6 separate regions of the Homo sapiens genome follow, and all the other regions are linked to region 6. Evidence: promoter capture Hi-C in 16 types of primary human blood cells and fetal thymus (Javierre and others, 2016). All regions are on one chromosome and are shown on one strand. The core of a region is centred on a gene start or on the middle of the fragment in contact, and the rest is flanking DNA. Distances in the headings are between cores, read along the strand shown. Region 1 overlaps ACSF3 (acyl-CoA synthetase family member 3). Region 2 overlaps ZNF778 (zinc finger protein 778). Region 3 holds the start of ZNF778 (zinc finger protein 778). Region 4 overlaps ACSF3 (acyl-CoA synthetase family member 3). Region 5 overlaps ACSF3 (acyl-CoA synthetase family member 3). Region 6 holds the start of PIEZO1 (piezo type mechanosensitive ion channel component 1 (Er blood group)).

Region 1 (4,022 bases), core at 708-3,207, 320 kb after region 6:
TATGGAAAAGCCCTTAGAATTTGGATCGTATCATGATGGTTCTCAGCACAGAGGAGCCCATCTCTGAGGCCAGATGCCTGGGACTGGGCTCTTGGTCTGTGCGGGGTTGTTCTGCAGGGCAGACGTCCCGGCCAGCAGAGGCACAGCCCTAAAGCCCAGAGCACAGCAGCCACCAGTGGCCGGCCCCACACTCACCGCTCTTGCCAGGACTCTTCCTGTCTGAAGTCTTTCTGGCCCCATCGAAGGCTGTGTGGAGCTCTGAGGCCTCTGACCGGGAGCTCAGGACCCAAACCCTAGTCAGGTGTGAATTTCGCCAGGAAGGGGTCCCTGCAAGCAGTCAGCCCTGCCCACCTTCCCTCTGCTTCTCCTGCCGCTGAGAGGCCCATCCTCTTCTCTGCAGGGCATCCAGCCCCACACGGTGGCTGGAGGTGGAGAGAAGGCAGCTTTTCTGGCCCTCCACCTCTCTGACCTTCAGTCTCATCCCCGGAAAATAAGGTTGGAGGCCGGCTCACAGTGGGCACAAACTTGGAAAAGAGAAGGGGCTCTTCTCTAGCCTCCACTGGAGGCAAGGTCTCACAAGAGAAGCCAGTATGTAGAACAGCTTTGTACGAGCAAGTGAGCCTGTTTCTTCACAGATGATAACATTGGGCTTTAGAGAAAGACCTCTTTAAAATCTAGCAGTTACTACCGTGCCAAAGAGAGGTGGCTGCCAGCACACTTGCGTGATTAGCCGTCAGCTCCCTCCACTGCTCTTCAGGACGCCTGTAGCCACAGAGCCTCCCTGAGGGCCCCGTCGCCAGGGTCACCTCCTGAAGAGCCTCCCTGAGGGCCCCGTCGCCAGGGTCACCCCCTGAAGAGCCTCCCTGAGGGCCCCGTCTCCCTAACACATTCCACATTCTTGTTGGCTTCAGTCCTTATTTTTCACAGACATCTCAGCCCTGACCCCAGCTGCGACACAGCAGTCTGTTAAGATGGCAGACACTGCGGCTGCCTCATCTGCGTGGTCCATCCCGGAGACATCTGCCTGGCGCTCTGCTCCAGGCCTTCCTGGCTCCCCTGGTAGGGATCTGGCTCAGTGACCCGACCCTCCTTGCGGCTCTCTCTGGGGTGCGCCCTGCATGGACACAGCTGTCCTTGGTGAACGTCTGCTGAGTCAAAGTGGTTTTGCTGCAGTGAGTTCCCCGTGAGTGCACTGTGTGGGTGGTGCAGCGCCTGGTGTGTAGGGAACTTCCATGCCTTTGCTGTGTCTCTGGGGGCTCCTCTGACGGGGCAGCTCCCTCCTCTCCGCCTTAAGCTCCTCCTTTCCTTTGGCGGTCAGCTCTGTCCAGGGTGTCAGTTTCTGTGCCTGTGACTGGGCCCCCTCAACCTGCCCCACCTTGGCCTCTGCTCCTTGGCAGCCTGGCCCTGAACCTCTGTTGGGGGCTGCCCGGGCGCTGACGGTGGCTGGTCTACCATGGTCACTTGGGCAGAGGCAGCAACGGCCATTGTCGTGGACCGTGCCAGGGCGAGATGCAGCTGGCAGGGGCAGAGGCAGAACATCTCCCAGGGAGCTGAGGGCAGGTTGGTTCCATCGTCCCGGAGGGCAGGTTGGTTCCATCCTCCCAAGTAAAGAGTGTGTTACCCTCAGGGCGAGAGGCAGGTGGGTGTGGGTGCTGGCGCAGGCCAGCTGTCAAGGATCTGGGCTTTCTGGTCTTGCTGCTTCTCCAGCACTGCATGAATGACACCACCTGGCCCTTTCCAGTGCCCACAGGCACACGGCTTGGGAGCTGCTGCTGCGGCGTCTCTGCCCAGGGGCATCTGCCAGGGGGTCCCTGCCTTGGGGTCTGTGTCCCAAGGGCGTCTGCCCAGGGATTTCTGCTCCGAGAGTGTCTACCCTGGGGTCTCTGCCTGGGGATCTGCTGTCATCTTCCAGACACTGCAGACTGGCTCATTAATGGACACGGGAAAGCCTCAGACCTTCAACGGACACGGGAAAGCCTCAGACCTTCACCGTTTTTGACACTTACTTGGGATTTTTCTTTAAACTATGCTGTGAAAACTTAATTTTTTTTTTTTTTGAGATGGAGTCTCGCACTGTTAGCCGGGCTGGAGTGCAGTGGCACGATCTCGGCTCACTGCAACCTCCGCCTCCTGGGTTCAAGCGATTCTCCTGCCTCAGCCTCCTGAGTAGCTGGGATTACAGGCACCTGCCACCACAGCCAGCTAATTTTTTGTATTTTTAGTAGAGACGGGGTTTCACTATGTTGGCCAGGCTGGTCTAGAACTCCGGACCTCATGATCCACCTGCCTCAGCCTCCCAAAGTGCTGGGATTACAGACGTAAGCCACTATGCCCAGCTGAAAACTTAATATTTAAACAAATTTGATGCTGTGGCTACAAAGGATTGCAACTCTTTTCCATAAACTCCAAGTTTCAGGGTTTTCCAACTTTAGGAATTTCTATGTGTAAAATCCAGCTGTCAGCGTTATTGAACTTTGGGATTTTGTCTAAGATTGTGTGGAAGAATGTGTAGGATACAAGTGTGGGGTGACCAGACACCTGCGGTGGTGCTGAACGATCTCAGACGCGGTGTCTTCAAGTCATCCTGCACAGAGGGCCGTGGGTGTCAGTGCCTGCAGGTGACGGATGGGGTTGGGGGAGAGGAGGAGGATGCCGGAAGATGGATGTGCAGCCACAGCCTCTGGAGATCAAAGTCACCACTGACGAGACAGCCAGAGGCTCAGATCAGTCACTCGTCTCCAACAGCACTGCCCTGGCCGACTTCCTCAGGATCGCAGCATGGACTCAGGAGGGCTGCCATCTGGCAGGGTCTGTGCTGTGGCAGCTCAGGTTAGAGCAACAGGCCTGCTCCTGCCACCTCAGAAGCACTTGCTAGTTAGTCAAATGTTATGGCGCCCTTCAGGGGGCCTCCAGGTCTTTCACGTCTTGGAAGTGTGGCAACACATTGGGATGTGCTGGAGGAAGAAGGTCACCCTCGGCTCTCAGTGCCCTTCTTTAGGGCAGCAGCTGCCCTCTGAAGATTTGGATGAATTCCAAGAAAGACCGTCCTTCGTGTCTTTCACCTCCGCGCCTGCTCCCTGCCCCTCAGCCTTGTCCCGTTGCGTGCATGCTGTCCCCGCCTCAGCACCATCCTGCTACACGCATGCTCTCCCCACCTCGGCACCATCCTGCTACACGCGTGCTCTCCCCGCCTCGGCACCATCCTGCTACACGCGTGCTCCGTTTTCCGTGCCTCAGTGTCACGTTTGTGTTTCTGGTTCACTGTGCTGTTGATCTGTGTGTTACATCAAATGCAGTTTGTTCTTTTTACGTTGCTGTGTTGTATTTCCTGGTGTGCAGAAGCCACAGTGCGCTTATCCATTCTGCTCTTGAAGGACTTGAGATTGTTTTCAGTTTGTGGCTATTAGAAGTCACGGTTGCTATGAACATTCTCACACAGATGTCCCTGTGGACAGTTCCCTTGGATCCGCAACTCCCAGTGCCGGCTCACAGGCTAGATGTATGTTTCATTTCAGTGGAAACTGCGGAAGAGTTCTCAAACGTGGCTGCATGTTTCACACACCCCAGCCCCAAATGTGGCTGCATGTTTCATACGCCCCCAGCCCCATTCTGCTGGTACCAATTTACTGTATTAGTCCGTGTGCACACTACTGATAAAGACATACCCAAGACAGGGAAGAAAAAGAGGTTTAATTGGACTCGCAGTTCCACATGGCTGGGGAGGCCTCAGAATCATGGTGGGAGGCAAAAGGCACTTCTTACATGGCGGTGGCAAGAGAAAATGAGGAAGAAGCAAAAGCGGAAACCCTTGATAAACCCATCAGATCTCATGAGACTTATTCACTATCATGAGAATAGCACAGGAAAGACCGGCCCCCATAATTCAATTACCTCCCCCTGGGCACCTCCCACAACACGTGGGAATTCTGGGAGATACAGTTCAAGTTGAGATTTGGGTGGGGATGCCATCAAACCATATCAGGAGTCCTTAAATTTGTTAAATTCCCCACATGTCTCCTCTT
Region 2 (4,126 bases), core at 1,000-3,499, 450 kb after region 6:
ACTGTGAGAGAAAAAATCCGAAAGTTTAGTTTTTCCCATTCGCTTGCCCTGGCCTCCAGGCAGTCCTGCAGCAGCAAACACATCATCAGCCTTAGGAGCTGGCCTGTGAGGTTGACCACTCTGTAGGTGGACGAGCCTCGCCCGAGAAGAGACATGAGCAGTTCTGCGTAGGCTTTAAGACAGAATCAACATGGAAAGCACGACCCACATGGTTTCAATAGAACTTGCCTCCTGAACCTGACTAGGTTACTCGCCTGATGAACCAGTATCTCCATCACCCGTGGGACTGACAGACCCAGAGTGTCATAACCTAAAATTCAGAAGTGTAGACTATAATCTTAAATTATTCAGCATATGTGCAACAGCCTTGGGGAGCAGTGTTATGATACCAAATGGCTAACATTCATGACCTCAGTATCCTGGAAGAAAAGGAGAAAGTGTGATGTAGTAAAACCACTTGAAAAAATAATGATGAAACATTTCTCATATTTGGTGTAAGATAAAAACTTAAGTTTGAAGAGGTTCCATGAGCCCCAGACAGGATAAACCTAAAGAAAACCAAGCCCAGGCCGGGGGCGGTGGCTCACACCTGTAATCCCAGCACTTTGGGAGGCCGAGGTGGGCGGATCACAAGGTCAGGAGATCATGACCATCCTGGCCAACACAGTGAAACCTCGTCTCTAGTAAAAAAAAAAAAAAAAAAGAAAAATACAAAAATTTAGTTGGGCGTGGTGGCGGGCGACTGCAGTCCCAGCTACTGGGGAGGCTGAGGCAGGAGAATGGCGTGAACCCGGGAGGCAGAGCATGCAGTGAGCTGAGATTGCACCACTGCACTCCAGCCTGGGCAACAGAGCGAGACTCTGTCTCAAAAAAGAAGAAAGAAAAGAAAACCAAGCCCCTGCCACCACGAAGCTGCCGAAAGCTACAGAGTGAAAGTCTTGGAAGGAGGCTGAGAAAGTGGACACAGTGCTTCCAGAAGAACAATTCAATTGACCGGGTTTCTCGTCGGAAGCCATAGAGGCCAACAGGAAATGTAGGAGCATTTTTCAAGTTCTGAAATAAAAAGAAATGCCAACCCAGATTGCTATATCCAACAAAATATCCTTTAGGAATGAAACAGAAGTAACGATGAGGCAATACAAAGAATTGCCTGCAGACCTGGTTTAAATAAATGGTTACAGAAAACTCTTAAGGAAACCTGGAACAAAGGAAAAGCAATAGAAGAGTAAATACCTGAGTAAATAGATCAGATCATTCTACTCTTGAGTTCTTTAAAATATATATTATTGTCAAAAGCAAAAATTATCACATGGGGTTTCAACTGATGTATATTTAATACATAAGACAACTACAACATGAAGGTGAGGGGCAACGTGGCTGGACGGCGTGGAGGTTCCGTGCTCCATTTCAGTGGCAAAATACCATTCCAGAAGGACTGGAAAAGCTAAGTCTGTATATTTTAATTACTAAAGAAGTGTACAGCTGGGTGTGGTGGCTCACGCCTGTAATCCCACCACTTTGGGAGAGTGAGGTGGGTGGATCACTTGAGGTCAGGAGTTTGAGACCAGCTTGGCCAACATGGTGAAACCCCATCTCTACTAAGAAATACAAAAATTAGCTGTGTGTGGTTGGGGGCACCTGTAATCTCAGCTTCTCAGGAGGCTGAGGCAGGAGAATCACTTGAACCCAGGAGGTGGAGGTTGCAGTCAGTCGAGATTGTGCCACGGCACTCCAGCCTGGGTGACAGAGCAAGACTCTGTCTAAAAAAAAAAAGGACAATGAGATATACTAAAATGGTCCAATATGTTAATTAAAACATACTACTAAAAAAAGTGTTAAATAGCCTGAAAGAATTGTGATAAAGGGGAAACTGAGTACTGGGAACAAAAGAGAACAAGTAGGTAACGAAGTGGTGGCCAGGTGCGGTGGCTCAGGCCTGTCATCCCAGCACTGTGGGAGACCGAGGCGGGCGGATCACTTGAGGTCAGGAGTCAGACCAGTCTGGCCAACATAGTGAAATCCCGTCTCTACTAAAAATACAAAGTTAGCCAGGGGTGATGGTGGGAGCCTATAATTCGAGCTACGTGGGAGGCTGAGGTAGGAGAATCACTTGAACCGGGGAGGTGGAGGTGGCAGTGAGCTGAGATCGCGCCACTGTACTCCAGCCTGGGTGACAGCAAGACTCTGTCTAAAATAAAAAATAAAAAATAACTGGTAGAGCTGAATCCTAGATAATCAAACACATTAGTGCACATGATCAGCTGGGCACTCACGCCTGTAATCCCAGCACTTTGGGAGGCCGAGGCGGGTGGATCACTTGAGGTCAGGAGTTCCAGACCAGCCTGGCCAACACGGTAAAACCTTGTCTCTACTAAAAATACAAAAATTAGCCAGGTTTGGTGGCTCATGCCTGTGGTCGCAGCTACTCAGGAACCTGAGGCAGGAGAATCATTTGAACCCAGGAGGTGGAGGTTGCAATGAGCCAAGATCGTGCCACTGCACTCCAGACTGGGCAACAGAGCAAGACTTCATCTCAAAAAAAAAATATGATCTACACATGCTATTTAAAGATAGGACAGATAAAAAGTGTGACGCATCAGTATGTCATCTACAAGACACTTCAAATACAATGACGTAAATAGGTTAATAGTACCATGTAAACATAATAAAGTGGAGAGGCTGTATTTAACATCAGAAAAAATGACTTCAGCACAAAGAAAATTACCACAGGGTGTTGAGTGCAGTGGCTGATGCCTGTAATCCCAACACTTTGGGAGGCTGAGGTGGCTGGCTCACTTAAGGCCAGCAGTTCAAGACCAGCCTGGGCAACATGGCGAAACCCTGTCTGTACTAAAAATACAAAATTAGCCGGGCATGGTGGCAGGCACCTGTGATCCCAGCTACTTGGGAGGCTGAGGCAGGAGAATCTCTTGAACCCGGGAGGTGGAGGTTGCAATGAGCCGAGATAGCGCCATTGCACTCCAGCCTGGGCAACAAGAGCAAAACTCCATCTCATAAATAAAAGTTAAAAGCAAAATGTGATAAAAGACCACAAAAATGAAAAATTACAGTGTTAATTATATTGATTCAAATTAGTTATGTTAAATATTAGCAAATAATACAAAACCACATTGAGAAAATAATAAACCATGACCAAGTGGAATTTAAGACTGCAACTGGTTCAATTAGAAAGCCTATTAAATACTACACCATATGAATCCATCTAAGAAGATAAGGCATGTGATTGTATCCATAGGTGTTGATGAAGCCTTTGGGAAAATGTGGTACCTACTATTGATAGACGCACTCAAAATAGGAATTGGTGAATACTTTCTTAGGACGCCTGTGTCTGTAGCTATATGTGTGTGTGTGTGTACTGGAAGTGTTACCTAATGCAATTGGGCAAAACAGATTTGCAAAAAAGTGAACTATCTCTTGTGTGCATTATATGATATACATGGAAAGCCCTGTAGAATCAGTAAAAACATTTAGTAAGTTAGAGGAGGTGAAGTTGCCGTCAAAACATAGATGGTCTTCATCTACACAACCAATAACCAGTGAGGTGATATGATAGTAGAGAAAACTTATTTATAATAGCAATAAAACAATGCTTAGAAATAAATTTATCAAGAAATGTATAAAACCTAAATGAGGAAACTTTTTGTTTGTTTGTTTGTTTGAGACAGAGTCTCGCTCTGTCATCCAGGCTGGAGTGCAGTGGCATGATCTCGGCTCACTGCAACCTCCACCTCCTGGGTTCAAGTGATTCTCCTGCCTCAGCCTCCCAAGTAGCTGGTATTACAGGTACCTGCCACCACGCCCGGCTAATTTTTGTATTTTTAGTAGAGACGGGATTTCACCATGTTGGCCTGGCTGGTCTCAAACTCCTGACCTCATGATCTGTCCGTCTCGGCCTCCCAAAATGCTGGGGTTACAGGCGTGAGCCACCGGGCCGTGCCCGGCCATGAGGAAACTTTAAAACACTTTTTTTTTTTAGATGGGGATTTGCTCTGTCCCACAGGCTGCAGTGCAGTGGTGTGATCACAGCTCACTGCAGCCTCGACCTCCAGGGCTCAAGCGATCCTTCCTCCTCATCCTCTCAAGTAGCTGAGACTACAGGTGCACA
Region 3 (3,552 bases), core at 88-2,587, 430 kb after region 6:
CTGGGCTTGGTGGCACGTGCCTGTAATCCCAGCTACTCTGGAGGCTGAGGCAGGAGAATCGCTTGAACCTGGGAGGCGGAGGTTGCGGTGAGCCAAGATTGTGCCCCTGCACTCCAGCCTGGTCGACAGAGCAAGACTTCGTCTCAAAAAAACAAAACAAAACAAAATTAAAAGAAAAAAAAACATATCCCAAGGGCAGGCACGGTGGCTGCAGTGGCTCACGTCTGTAATCCCACCACTTTGGGAGGCCGAGGCGGGTGGATCACCTGAAGTGAGAAGTTTGAGACCAGCCTGGCCAACATGGTGAAACTCCGTCTCTACTAAAAATTACAAGGTGGGCACCTGTAATCCCAGCTACTTGGGAGGCTGAGGCAGGAGAATAGCTGGAACCTGGGAGGCGGAGGTTGCAGTGAGCCAAGATCGTGCCACTGCACTCCAGCCTGGACGACAGAGGGAGACTCCGTATCAAAATTAATAAATAATAAATAAAACACATCCCAAACACTCATAGTGTTGAACCATTTAGCATGTGGTTGCTTTGTATACTTCGTGAAATTGTGTCCAATCTCTGCTAGCCATAGATAAGATAAATCCTGGGGCTCTAAAGACTGCAAGCCGTTGCTGCCCTTCAGAGCTTTGTGACTCAGACACCTGTCAGGCTGCTGAGAAACGTGATCTAGTCACGTCAGCCCTCCCCCTGTCTGATCTCCTTCTTCTCTGGGAGTTCTCTGCGCGCCCCCCGCCCACGCTCATTTTTTTCTCTTTTCTGAGTAGTGACCCCCAATTCGAAGCCTGTGGGTAATCTCATGGTGCGTGAGACTCCCTCACCCTCCAACCTGTCAAAGCTTGTGCGCCACCGCCACCTCCTGGGCACATCTTGTTTCTTAATCAGCCACGAAATCACGTGAACACTTCACATGTGGTTTTGTTTTGTTTTTCACATTTAGACTCCTGATCCGTTTGGAGTTTATCCCTGTGAGATCCAGAATTAATTTCATCATTTCTCAGACGGCTAACCATTTGTCTTAGCACCTTTCATTATAAACTGCATGTTTGTTCCACCGCTCTGAAATTATGTTTATGAACCAAATTTCCATGTTACTGGGTTGATGTCTGGATATTCCATTTGTTTCCTGTTCATGTGTCACTAGCACACAGTTTTAATGACAGAGGCTGTTTTCGCATCTGTCGGGCATTGCGCTTTTGTTTGTCCGCGTCGTCTGCGTTATGAGACATTTGTTCCTCCATGTGAACTCCAGGATCAATATGCCTGGTTCCAAAAAAAAAACCTTTTCGTATTGTTACTGGAATCATGTGACATTTCTGAATGAACCTTGGGAGAACCCCTGGTATCAGTGCTATTTTGCAACGTAGTATAGGTGGTCTTGGCTCCTACGGTACATTAGAAAAGTAACAGAAACGCATATTTGAAGCGAAAAATAGATGAACATTTACAGAAAAAAAAAATACCACATTGAAAATGCAGTGGAATCAACTGTTAAAAGTTCGGCGTGATGTTCAGACAGATAAAAAGGAACGGGGCCAGTGACTCCCTGCAGAGATCGAGAGAAGACCGAGCACTCCCAGCACCCGCGGGCTTCTCGCTGTGACCGAACCGCGGGCCGCGCTCGCGACGAGCACTTCCTGGCTGTACCCGCCCAACCGCGCCCTCCTGGTCTGTTCCGGCTCCGCAGTTGCGTCCAGAGGCCTGATCCTTACGTCCGCCTGGTCCTCCGGGCCTGTCTCTGCCTCCAGCCCGGTTCCCAAGGGCGCCCCGGGGCCCTCCCGCACCCTCGCGGAAGAAACTACTACCTCCCCGCACCATAGGCCAAAGCTTCGGCCCGGAGGCTGGAGGCGGAAGTGACGCCAAAGACGCGCCGGCCCCTCTTCCGGCGCCGGCCCCGCCTCCGCCTGTCTTACAGCTGATCCGGTTCTTGCGGCGGTGCGTGCTGGCGCCGGAGAGTTCCGCGCGTGTCCTCGGGCTGTCCGCGGGGAAGCTGGTCCGGGAGTGGGCGCCCGCCCGCCTGCCTCGCGCCTTGCGCCCCCGGCACCGCTTCCAGAAGGGAAAGTCGCCGCCGCTCGCGGTAGACCCGGGCAGCGCTTCCATTCCGCGGAGCTGGTGAGAGAGGGGCCCTTTGCTTCCTTCACTTTGAACAGGGCGTGTTTCTGTGAGAATCTGGCTTCGGCTTTGACGTTTTTTATTTGTTTCTGGCACATTGTGTTGGGACCGAAGCGTAAGGTAGACCCCTGAGCGCCCCGGGCGTGCAGCTCCCTGTGAAAGTTAGCCCGTGGGGGCCAGCGGGAGCGCGCGTCCCTCGCCGCCGGGACTTCCAGGCCCGGCCCTCGGGGCGGGAGGGATGCGGCCGTTGTCCCGCTGGTCTTGGAGTAATCGAATCCACGGTGAACAGTGTGTTTCGACTAACTGTATTTTTTCTCACGTTTTGCTTTAGAAAATCTGAATCTAATAAAAATGTGAACATCTGCTACAAGGAATATCCACTGCAATCGTTTTACTCCTTTTTAGCTTTGGGCCATGTTTTCTCTCTCCCCCAATAAATAAACCTTACGGTGAATTATTATTTGAGTGTAAGTAAGTTGAAATTAAACTGCACACATGATACTTAACCTTTAAATACTTGGTAAAGCGTCTGTTAAGGGTAAGGACATTATCCTACTGAAACCACAATATTAGTATTTCATCTAAGAAAATTAAAATTAGGCCGGGCGCGGTGGCTCACGCCTGTAATCCCAGCACTTTGGGAGGCCGAGGCGGGTGGATCACGAGGTCAGGAGACCGACACCATCCTGGCTAACACGGTGAAACCCCATCTCTACTAAAAATACAAAAAATTAGCCGGGCGTGGTGGCGGGCTCCTGTAGTCCCAGCTACTCTGGAGGCTGAGGCAGGAGAATGGCGTGAACCCGGGAGGCGGAGCTTGCAGTGAGCCGAGATGGCGCCACTGCACTCCAGCCTGGGCGACAGAGCGAGACTCCGTCTCAAAAAATAATAATAATAATTAAAAATAATAAGGTCCGCTGGGCACAGTGGCTCACGCCTGTAATCCTAGCACTTTGGGAGGCCGAGGCGGGTGGATCATCTGAGGTCGGGAGTTCAAGACCAGCCTGACTAACATGGAGAAATCCCGTCTCTACTAAAAGTACAAAATTAGCCTTGCATGGTGGCGCATGCCTGTAATCCCAGCTAGTCGGGAGGCTGAGGCAGGAGAATCGCTTGAACCTGGGTGGCACAGGTTGCGGTGAGCCAAGATCGTGCCATTGCACTCCAGCCTGGGCGACAGAGCAAGACTCCGTCTCAAAAAAATAAAAAAATAAAAAAATAAGAAGGAGGTCATCCACTGTCTACTTTGTGTAATATCTAGGATTCTCAACATTTTTCCAACATTGCGCTGTTGGGTATTTTGGGGACTAAGAGCCCTTCAAGGTTTATCTGTTCCCATCGTTTATGTCTTTTCACCTAGAACAACCCCTGTGGTTTCTCTATCATATTGACTTTGGTGTTGTTTTCTCGTGATACGTTTAAATATTCCTCCA
Region 4 (3,843 bases), core at 1,344-3,843, 340 kb after region 6:
TTTCACCAGCTTTATTCTTTCTCAGAGTTGTTTTGGTGCACATATTAATTTTAGAATTAGCTTGTCTAGCCGGGCCTGGTGGCTCACACCTGTAATCCCAACACTTTGGGAGGCCAAGGTGGGCAGATCACCTGAGGTCAGGAGTTCAAGACCAGCCTGACCAAGATGATGAAACCCGTCTCTACTAAAAATACAAAAATTAGCCAGGCATGGTAGTGGGTGCCTGTAATCCCAGCTACTTGGGAGGCTGAGGCAAGAGAATCACTTGAAACCAGAAGGCGGAGTTTGCACTGAGCCGAGATCACGCCACTGCACTCCAGCCTGGGCAACAAGAGCAAAACTCTGTCTCAAAAAAAAAAAAAAAAGAATTAGCTTGTCTATATCTACAAAAAGTTCTTTTGAGGTCTTGAATGGAAAGCCAGGTGTAGTGGCTCATGCCTGTATTCCCAGCATTTTGGGAGGCCAAGGCAGGCTAATCAACTTGAGACCAGGAGCTCAAGACCAGCCTGGCCAACATGGTAAAACCCTGTCTCTACTGAAAATACAGTTAGCCAGGTGTGGTGGCACACGCCTGTAATCCCAGCTACTCGGGAGGCTGAGTCACAAGAATTGTTTGAGCCTGGGAGGTGGAGGTTGAAGTGAGCCAAGACTGCACCACTGCACTCCAGCCTGGGCAACAGAGTGAGACTGCCTCAAAAAAAAAAAGAGAGAGAGAGAGAGAGAGATGTTGATTGGAATTTAGCCATTCTGATCGGGGAGATCACTTGGGGGAGAATTAACAATTACTATGCTGAGTCTTCCAATCCATGAACATGGTATGTCTCTCCATTTACTTAGATCCGTGAACACGGTGTGTCTCTCCGTTTACTTAGATCCGTGAACACAGTGTGTCTCTCCGTTTACTTAGATCCGTGAACCTGGTGTGTCTCTCCATTTACGTAGATCCGTGAACACGGTATGTCTCTCCATTTACTTAGATCCGCAAACACGGTATATCTCTCCATTTACTTAGATCCGTGAACACGGTATGTTTCTCCATTTACATAGATCTGTGAACACGGTCTGTCTCTCCATTTACTTAGATCAGTGAACATGGTGTGTCTCTCCATTTAGATATACTTTGGTTTCTTCTGTGTTGTATTCAGCATATAGATGCTGTACTTGTGTTAAATTTATAAGTAAATGTTTCTTCTTTTCTTTATTCCTCCTATTTCTTCTCCTCCTTTTCCTCTCCTTTTTAAACTATTGTAAGTATGGCAGGTGGGTATGGGGGGAGAGTTGTTTGTTTTTTTGAGACAGAATCTTGTCCTTTCGCCCAGGCTGGAGTGTAGTGGTACGATCTCAGCTCACTGCAACCTCTACTTCCTGGGTCTAAGTGATTCTCATGCCTCAGCCTCCCCAGTAGCTGGGATTACAGATGTGTGCCACCACACCTGGCTGATTGTTGTATTTTTAATAGAGGCAGGGTTTCACCATGTTGGCCAGGCTGGTCTCAAACTCCTGACCTCAAGTGATCTGCCCGCCTCGGCCTCCCAAGATGCTGAGATTACAGGCATGAGCCTCTGCACACAGTCACGTTTTTGTTGCTGTTGTTAGTTTTCAACTGTTCATTGCTAGTAGGTAGAAATAGAATTGATTTTTGTGTGTTGGCCTCAAATACTTTAGTTGTTACCTTGCTAAATTAACTTACTAGTTTTAGGAGATTTTAATAGACTTCTTGGGAATTTCTACAAATACAATCATGTTTTCTGCAAATACAAACAGTTTTATTTCTTCCTTTCCAACCTGTATGACCAAAGCCCTGACTAGGACTTCCAATACGATACTGAACAGAAGCAGTCCGAGTGGACCTTCTTATTTCTGATCTTAGGGAAAGGATTCAGTCTTTCAGCAAGTGTGTTAGTTACTGGCTTTTTGCAGATTCCATTCTATCTATAATGTGCTTAGACTTTTTATCACTAAATGTATGTTGAATATTTTCAAAAAGCTTTTCGGTATTGATGGACTTTTCTTTATTAGGCTGTTAATATGGTAGATTACATTGAACCAAGCTTTCATTCCCAGGACAAACCCCACTTGGTCCTGGTGGGTCATTTTTTTATATATAGTACTGGATTTGATTTGCTAGCATATTGCTGAGTATTTTTGCATCTGTATTCATAAGAAATTTTGGTCTGTAGTTTCCCATTTTTGTACTTTCTTTGGGTTGTGTTTGAGGGTGATGCTGGCCTCATTAAATGAGTTGGGAAGTGTTCTCTCCTCTTTTTTTTTCTGGAAGAGATTGTGTAGAATTGGTATTATTTCTTCTTTCAATGATTGGTGGAATTCACCAATGAAATCATCTGGGCCTAGAGGTTTTCTTTTCTATTATTATTATTTTGTGTGTGGGGGATAAGGTCTCGTTCTGTCACGCAGGCTGGAGTGCAGTGGTGCAATCATAGCTCACTGGAGCCTTGAACTCCTGGGCTCAAGTGATCCTGCGTCAGCCTCCCAAGTAGCTGGGACCACAGGCATGTGCCAACATGCCCAGCTAATTTTTTATTTTTATTTTTGTAGAGTTGGGGGTCTCACTATATTGCCCAGGCTGATCTTGAACTCCTGGCCTCAAGTGATTCTCCCTCCTCGCCTCCCAAAGTGCTAGGGTTACAGGTGTGAGCCACTGTGCCCTACCAACGTTTCTTTTTTGAAAGAAAAAGAACTATGAATTCAATTTCTTTAGTGCTTATAGGACTGTTCAGGTCATCTGTTGCATCTTGGGTGATTTTTGGTACATATCATTTTTGAGGAATTGGTTCATTTAATCTGTTAAGTTTCTTTATGTAGAGTTTCCCTTCAGGCCACGAAACCATTAAAAGGTTGATTAAAAGGTTAATAAGGGAATTCCCATCTTAACCTTTTAATGGTTTCAGGGCCTGAAGTTATGTGGCTCCCATTCCTCATGTTGGTAATTTGTGTCTTCTGTTTCTTTTTTCTTTGTTATCCTTGCTAGAAGTTTATCTGTTTTATGGCTCTTTTTTCAAAGAAGTCACTTTTGGATACATTGATTTTTCTTTACTGTTTTTCTGTTTTCAGTTTCACTAGTTCTTGGTTTCTTCTACTTGCTTCTGGCTTTTCTCTTTTTCTAGTTGCTTAAGGTGAAGCTTTAGATTATTGATTTGAGACCTTTCCTCTTTATAATGTGTACATTTAATGACGTACGTTGCCCTTAAGCATTGCTTTAGCTGCATCCCCAAATTTATATATAATATATATATATTTTTTTCTTTTTTCTTTTTTTTTTTTTGAGACGGAGTTTCGCTCTCGTTGCCCAGGCTGGAGTGCAATGGCATGATCTTGGCTCACTGCAACCTCAGCCTCCCAGGTTCAAGCAATTCTCCTGCCTCAGCCTCCTGAGTAGCTGGGAGTATAGGCATGCGCCACCACGCCCAGCTAATTTTTTGTATTTAGTACAGATGGGGTTTCACCATGTTGGTCAGGCTGGTTTCGAACTCCTGACCTCAAGTGATCCACCCACCTCGGCTTCCCAAAGTGCTGAGATTACAGGCATGAGCCACCACGCCTGACCTAAATTTTGATATATTTTTATTTTCATTTAGTTCAAAATATTTTTAATGTTCCTTAAGACTTCCTCTTTGACTTGTGGATTATTTAGAAGTATAGCACATATTTTCCAAATAGTTGGATATTTTTCCATTATCTTTCTGTTACTGATTTCTAGTTTAAGTCCATTACAGTCAAAAGACGCACTTGGTATATTTCAATTCTTTTAAATTTGTTAAGTTGTGTTTTGTGGCCCAGAATGTGGTTTCTTTTCAGGAATGTTCTGGTGTACTTGAAAAGAGT
Region 5 (2,500 bases), core at 1-2,500, 370 kb after region 6:
CAGTTGTTGCAGCTCAAGGAGACCGTCCCTGGTGTCACCTCTGCCTGGTCACCGCCGACCTCATCTGTGCAGCGCGGTGCAGCCAGCCCCTGGCCCCACGTGCTGAGGCACCTCCCGCCCCACAGTGCCCTGCAGTTGCCAGGCTCTCCAGGGCAGGTCCCAGAGGTTTCCCACAAAAAACAAAGACTCCACTGGAGGAAACAAGCCCCTGTCCCACGCCGTCTGCACGTGCCTGTGCCTCACCCAGAGCCAGTGTCTCCCGGCCCACATAGGAGGTCTGGGCAGCCACCCAGGGGGCCCTCCTGGGAGGAGCTGAGGGTTCACAAGCCTCCCAGAACCAGCCCTGTCCCATGGGTTCCGTGCATTTCCTGGTGCTGCTCTTGGAGGAGAGCAGCTCCCACTGTGGGGACACCTGCCACCCTGCACACTACTGTGTGTCCATCAGCATGTGTCACAGAAAGTGCGTGGACGGATGGCCCCGGAGCTGCTCTGCCGTGACCCTGCCTCACCCCCCAGCGCAGGGACTTTCCAGGTCATCTCCACACCAGCCCCTCAGCCGGTGAACCCTCTCTCCCATCACCGTCTCCACCCAGACCCCCACCTGCCCCATGGCCCCCATTTCATGTCTGTGGCTCACCAGCTTTTCCCCAGACCCAGCTCCGGAGCCCACAGGCGTGGCCGATGCAGAAACCTCAGGAAGGTGTGTTGTGAATGTTGGGTGCACCCACGTTGCATTTACTTAGCGGGGCCAATTCAGATGCACAGGGGCCACATGCAGAATCCAGAAGTTTCTGGACAATTTTCAGAAGAATAGGCTGCCTCCTCCCCACAGCCTGGGGGAAGTAACAGTCATCGCCCAGCAGTGTCTGGCCTGAACTTACCCAGAACATTCTGCCCCCGGAATGCACGTCTGAAAGAGTGGCCAGAAACGAGTGTGCCGGGCAGGAGGCCAGCCCCATCTCAGGCTCACGTGCCTCTGACAGGAGACCAGCCCCATCTCAGGCTCACATGCCTCGCGGACAGTTGGACGTGGCCTGGGGCCCCTGCTCACTTGAGCATGTCGCCCACCAAGCTTGTCTGAGGCCACAGAGCAGCGTCCCAGCCCTGTTTTCCAGGACTGGTGGGTGCCCCAGTCCACGGCCCTGCCCCACCCGAACTCCTGCCTCACGGTGTGGCCTTGTGCATCCCCATGGCCTGACCCCGGGAACAGTCAGAGGAAGGGGTCCCGCCCTCCCGCCAGAGGCCTGGACCCAAGGGAACGGCAGTCAGAGACTACAGTCCAGACGTTTGTGTCTAGGCCTTGCTGGTAGCTAAGGAAATGCCTTCTGTTGGGAAAAGGTCAAATTTAACATAGCAAAATTTTTACTTAATTCCACTAATTTTACATTTGCATCTCTCTCCTTTAATCCTGAAACTTTTGATTCCTAAAAAGCTTACATAATCATTTGCTTTATCCGATAGTATACATCAGTATATCATGCTTTCGAAATAATGAGTGTAACTTTCTGCTGACAATACTACAAACTACAGAAAGCCTGGAGCTCATTGACCAGAAACTGCAGAGAGCCTGGAGCTCGTTGACCACAAACTACAGAAAGCCTGGAGCTCGTTGACCAGCCGGTTGACCAGAATACGGTGCTCCAAGGACATGCGGTTGAATGCCGTGTTCTAAAGTCACGAGTGACTCTCCAGCTGGTCCCTGTGCCAGGCTGGTCGGCCTTCGTGCACACAGTCCGCCAGTGCCCAGCCAGGCCCCTGGTTCCCCTCTGCTCCACCAGCCGAGAACAAGCCCGTCCTGGAGGGAACTCATCCTCTCCTCCCTCCCCATTAAAGCCCAGTTTATTCCCCATCTTGGCCTCTGGTGCTGACCTGGCCTCTGGAGACACAGGCCGGGGGGTGCTGTTTGCGAACTCACCGTGACTGAGCTCCATGAGGATACCACAGTCCCACGTGGCTGGCAGCGCCCACCCCACACACCCTGCCCCTTGCTGGGCGGCCCCATGCCACAAAAGTTAGACCCAGGAGCAGGTGCCCTGGGAGCAGGCTGCCACCAGCTGGGTCAGAAGCCCCTCTACATGCCTGGTGCTTTTGACCTCCTAGGGAGGCTGGCTTGAATCTGGAAAGTCACCAGTTCTGACCCCAGCCAGACACAGGGGTGCTGCCAGGAGCTGCTCCCAGGCGGGTGGCCCAGCTTCTCTCAGGCACCAGGGGATGGCAGGACTCCTGGTGACCAGCTGGTCCCCAAAGCCGTGGCACCGCGCCTGCTGCTGCCAGCAAAGTCCCACACACAGCCTGTGGCAGGTGCCGCCCCATTCTTTCTGCCCCTCCCTCATCAGGGGCCAGGGTGAAGCCCCTGCCGCCCTCTGCCTTCCCTCCACCTGCGGCTTCCCTGGCAGGGAGACCATGGACCCAGCTCCTGCCTCCTCCATTCGTTTAACAGATAGGGCCCAGGCCAGCAGCCCAGGCATTAGGCTGGCCGGTCCACTGAGGCCTAGACAGG
Region 6 (3,920 bases), core at 1,271-3,770:
GCTCGCCAGAGAGGGAGGGGGCACTCCAAAGACAGCAAAGCCAGTGTCCCACCTCCGGCCAGGCCAGCTGAACCTGCACATCGCGGGTCCATCTGGAGCTGCCCACACCCCAGGGCCAGAGAGCCTGACTCAGGAGTCCCGGCCAGCAGGCAGGCAGGCAGGGTTCTTGGCCGGCTCCACTTCCATCTCCCCCAGGTGACTGAGAGAAAACACTGAGTGAGGCCCAGGCCCCACGCCCCATCCCCAGACACAGAATCAGTGTGGGGTATGGCCCGGGCTTCAGCATCTTTCAAATTAAGAGACTTTATTTGGGACCAGTTTTAGGTTTAAGGAAAGTACCATACAGACAGACAGTCAGTCATCACTATTCTTTAAAAGTTTCATAGAAGACTGACACGGGGCCTGGGTGAGCACCCCTGGGCTACCTCCCCATCCTCCCCAAGGAGGCCAAAAGCAAGAAGAACAGTGATCCCTCCCCCAGATCCCCCACGCGGATAGCAATCGAGAAGGCAGAACCCAGGCCCCCTGACCAATGCCCAGGGGGCAGCAAACCACATGTGCCACAGAATCGGGCTCAACACCTGTTTAGGTACAGCCCATGAACTCAGGAGGGCTTTTACATTTAATGGCTGGAAAAATACCAGAAGAAGAAGATTTTGTGACATGAAAATATTTACCATCTGGTCATTTAAAGAAAAACATTGCCAACTCTGCCCAAGGAGCAGCTGCCATCTGAGAGGGGGGGCATTCCCTGCAGGGAGGACACCCGCTCCCACTCAGACACAAGAGGAAATGGAACGATCAGTGTGAACGGGACGTTTCAGAAGCTTTCCTGTTTCCCTCTCTAAGGCCTGTCAGCTCTAGACTCTGCCTCTGTGCCAGGCTGTCCTGCTTGTTTTCAAGGCACAGGAAGGAACACAGCCGGGCCCTGTTTACGGCCCATCTGACCCTGCACTGGGAGCAGGTCCCAGGCTGCCCAGTCCACACAGGGCTGACCGCACTGAAGAGAGTTGCTCAAAACCTCTCCTCTCCAGCCTCAATGGTTTTCATTGATTCCTGTCTAGAAAATCTTCCCCAAGTTTCACCACCTTTCTGTGCGACCGATCAAAACGCAGTCTGTCTGGGAGCCTCAGGCAGGCGGCTCTAGATCCCCAAAGCTAGCGCTGGGCGAGCTCCCACCTGGAGCGAGGCAAGGGCTCCGAAAGGGCTTTTACAATCAAAAGGCCCCACCTGCCGTGTCCATGGCGGACTCCCAATGCAAACCGTCCCACTTGTCCGTGGGTTAATTCCATCCGACTGCTTCCCAGATCAATCACACGTGGGGAGCCCCCGGGCGGAGGGCGCGGACCCTGGGTCCCGGCTAGGCCAGGGTCGGGGAAGGGTAGGGGTGCCAGGCCGTGCAGCACCAAGCCACCCGGGTGTGCTTCGCGAAAGGGGCACCACTGCCCGGCAAGCAGGGAACACAGATGCCAGGACTGGGGACCCCTGCCCCGCCCTGACACCAGGCCACAGCCTCCGGGGGTGTCCCCTCCCCCAGACCAGGGCAGAGGCCGGCCCCCGCCCCTGCGAAACTGAGCCCAGTAGGGCAAGGGAGGACCAGGGAGGAACCCACACTATTTTTTTCCAAAGTGTGGGACCGCCTCAGTCCGGCAGAGGGGGGTGCAGCGGTGAGCGGGGCTGGGCCCTGGGCACGGACGTTCGTTGGGCTCGGGAAGCTCCAAATTAAACAGCTCCAGGCAGGAAGCCCGCCTTCTCCCAGATTGTCAGGAAGTCCTGATGCAACTTTGCGCTTTTTTTTTTAAACCCGAAAGAGAAAAAGAGATTCGTGCTCCCCCCACCACCGCCGCGGCCCTTCCCACCGGGGCAAACACCGCCTCGCCCGGCGGCCTCCTCTCCGCAGCGCCCCGGCGGAGACGCCAGCCGCGCTATGCCCGGCGCTCGCTCGACCGCCCCCGTGGGCACGCGGTGCCGTCTCCCCCAGCCGCCGCCGCCCTTCCAGCCCGGCCCTGGGACAGGAGCCCCGCCGCCGCCTGGCGCGCTCATGCTTCAGGAATGCGGGCGCCCGGGTCGCGCGTCCCTGGGAATTTCCGCGCCCGCTCGCCCGCAGCCCTCGCCCCGGCCGGCGTCGTCCGGTGTCCAGGCCGTGGGGAGCCGAGACGCAGCCCCCTCCCGTCGCCCCCAGGCGCCCGCCCCCCACTCACCAGCCAGCAGCGCGCAGGGCAGCAGCAGCCAGTACAGGACCGCGCCGAGCACGTGCGGCTCCATGGCTGGAGGGCCCAGGGCCCGGCCCAGACCGAGCGGACGCCGCGGCGCTATGGGGCGGTGCGGGGGCCCCGGGGCCGGCGCGCCATGGCTGACCCGCGGGGACCCGCGCGCCGCCTTCTCCTCTTCCTCCTTCTCCTTCGGCCGCCCCGCCGGTGCCGACGTCCCGGGCCCGCGCTCGCTCAGGCGACCGCCCTGCCCCTCGGCGGAGCGCAGCGCTCGGCTCACTGGGGCCGAGCTGGGCCGGACGGCGGCTCCCGCCCTCCTCCGCCCGCGGGCCTTTATAAGCTCGGCCCCCTCCCGCCCTCCCCGGCGTGCCCGCCTCCGCGCTTCCCCGACGGCCCGGCGCGCCCAGGCACCCCCTCCGCTGTCCCGCGCGGCCCGTCCCGCCTCCGGCCCGCCCTGGTGCGTTGGGGCCTGGAGACCCCCGACTGGCGCTGGCCCGGAGCGGACCCCTCCCCTCCCGCAGTCTTGGCCCCGCGGCTCCGAGCGTGCGCGGCGGTGGGCAGGGGCGCTTCTCGCTGGGTGGGCTGCGGCTGGGGCCCGGGCGCTACATAAGGGGTCCCGGGGCCTCTGGCTCCCCCAGGCAGCGCCCCACGCGCAACTGCACCCCGCGTGCCCGAGCGACTTTCGCTTTGCTCCCCGAGGCGCGAGCACGCAGCGCCCCCTGGGGACCGTGGGGAGGCTCGGAGTTCCCGCGGCGGCCGGGCCTAGTGGTCCCGGAGGGAGCACGCGGGATGCTCGGGTCGCAGCAGTGCCGCGATCCGCGTTGGTCTGACGGGGGCTCGGGGGCTGCTCCCAGCCACGCCGGCCACCGCGCGCGGCTTTGCCCGGGTCGCTCTGGCGTGAGACGGTGAGAGTGAGAGCCACGGCCTGTGCACCTGCTGCCGCGGCGCCCTGCCACGGAGAGGTAGGGTCTGAGTCCAGGGTGTTCGGGACCCTCACCCAGGCCACGTCAGTTTGGCCTTCGTCTGCCCTTGAGATGGGCACAGAAAGAGGGCAAAGGGCTCTACACCGTTTAATTGGGCTCAGTTCATGGCTCTCAAACTCAGCTGCGTAAGGCAGGGAGTGGGGCTGGGGGGACTGTGGCCACTGAGCCTCAAGGCACTGGCAACTCATGAGAGCCCAGCACAAGCCCACACCCTCCAGCTCAAAAAAAAAAAAAAAAAAAAAAGATGGCGGGGCAGTGGCTCAGGCCTGTAATCCCAGCACTTTGCGGGGCTGAGGCAAGGGGGTAGGGGGTCGGGGGATCACTTGACGTCAGGAGTTCGAGACCAGCCTGGCCAACATGGTGAAACCCCGTCTCTACTAAAAATACAAAAATTAGGCCGGGCGCGGTGGCTCACGCCTGTAATCCCAGCACTTTGGGAGGCCGAGGCGGGTGGATCACCAGGTCAGGAGATCGAGACCATCCTGGCTAACACGGTGAAAACCCATCTCTACTAAAAACATAAAAAATTAGCCGGGCGTGGTGGCGGGCTCCTGTAGTCCCAACTACTCGGGAGGCTGAGGCAGGAGAATGGCATCAACCCAGGAGGCGGAGCTTGCAGTGAGCCGAGATAGCGCCACTGCACTCCAGCCTGGGCGACAGAGCCAGACTCCGTCTCAATAAATAAATAAATAAATAAATAAATAAATAAATAAATATACAAAAATTA

Evidence for each region. The method cuts DNA at HindIII sites, captures the fragments that hold promoters and counts their contacts. A CHiCAGO score of 5 or more calls a contact.
Region 1: a contact is called between a fragment that was not itself captured here and the fragment with the promoter of PIEZO1 in region 6, in 1 of 17 cell types (neutrophils). The highest score is 5.1, in neutrophils.
Region 2: a contact is called between a fragment that was not itself captured here and the fragment with the promoter of PIEZO1 in region 6, in 1 of 17 cell types (total CD8 T cells). The highest score is 5.2, in total CD8 T cells.
Region 3: a fragment that was not itself captured here is called in contact with the fragment with the promoter of PIEZO1 in region 6 in 16 of 17 cell types (erythroblasts, naive CD4 T cells, naive B cells and 13 more); the score reaches 34.2 in erythroblasts.
Region 4: a fragment that was not itself captured here is called in contact with the fragment with the promoter of PIEZO1 in region 6 in 11 of 17 cell types (monocytes, fetal thymus, naive CD4 T cells and 8 more); the score reaches 8.4 in monocytes.
Region 5: a contact is called between a fragment that was not itself captured here and the fragment with the promoter of PIEZO1 in region 6, in 5 of 17 cell types (endothelial precursors, total CD8 T cells, M0 macrophages and 2 more). The highest score is 8.2, in endothelial precursors.

The regions. Positions count from the first base shown.
Region 1 is chr16:89,104,254-89,108,275 of GRCh38, forward strand. The region is part of intron 4 of ACSF3 (acyl-CoA synthetase family member 3); the gene reads left to right. Among named protein-coding and RNA genes, the nearest start is that of ACSF3, 12 kb to the left of the region's middle. RefSeq lists an enhancer at 1,024-1,073. The HindIII fragment of the contact is 6,380 bases long and covers 1-4,022 here.
Region 2 is chr16:89,235,310-89,239,435 of GRCh38, forward strand. It overlaps ZNF778 (zinc finger protein 778), which reads left to right. Exons shown (of 7, transcript NM_001201407.2): 7 at 1-1,832. Among named protein-coding and RNA genes, the nearest start is that of ZNF778, 20 kb to the left of the region's middle. The HindIII fragment of the contact is 4,676 bases long and covers 1-4,126 here.
Region 3 is chr16:89,215,792-89,219,343 of GRCh38, forward strand. It overlaps ZNF778 (zinc finger protein 778), which reads left to right and starts at 1,912. Exons shown (of 7, transcript NM_001201407.2): 1 at 1,912-2,119. It overlaps ZNF778-DT (ZNF778 divergent transcript), which reads right to left and starts at 1,862. Exons shown (of 1, transcript NR_186410.1): 1 at 1-1,862. RefSeq lists enhancers at 450-744, 1,694-1,743, 2,268-2,798, 2,799-3,328. The HindIII fragment of the contact is 989 bases long and covers 844-1,832 here.
Region 4 is chr16:89,124,995-89,128,837 of GRCh38, forward strand. The region is part of intron 7 of ACSF3 (acyl-CoA synthetase family member 3); the gene reads left to right. Among named protein-coding and RNA genes, the nearest start is that of LINC00304, 32 kb to the right of the region's middle. The HindIII fragment of the contact is 1,089 bases long and covers 2,050-3,138 here.
Region 5 is chr16:89,154,385-89,156,884 of GRCh38, forward strand. ACSF3 (acyl-CoA synthetase family member 3) reads left to right here. Exons shown (of 11, transcript NM_001243279.3): 11 at 1-1,849. Among named protein-coding and RNA genes, the nearest start is that of LINC00304, 3.6 kb to the right of the region's middle. The HindIII fragment of the contact is 360 bases long and covers 1,071-1,430 here.
Region 6 is chr16:88,782,700-88,786,619 of GRCh38, forward strand. PIEZO1 (piezo type mechanosensitive ion channel component 1 (Er blood group)) reads right to left here and starts at 2,521. Exons shown (of 51, transcript NM_001142864.4): 1 at 2,202-2,521. The coding sequence starts at 2,265. RefSeq lists silencers at 1,350-1,669, 2,170-2,649, 2,690-3,019 and an enhancer at 1,752-2,665. The HindIII fragment of the contact is 3,775 bases long and covers 826-3,920 here.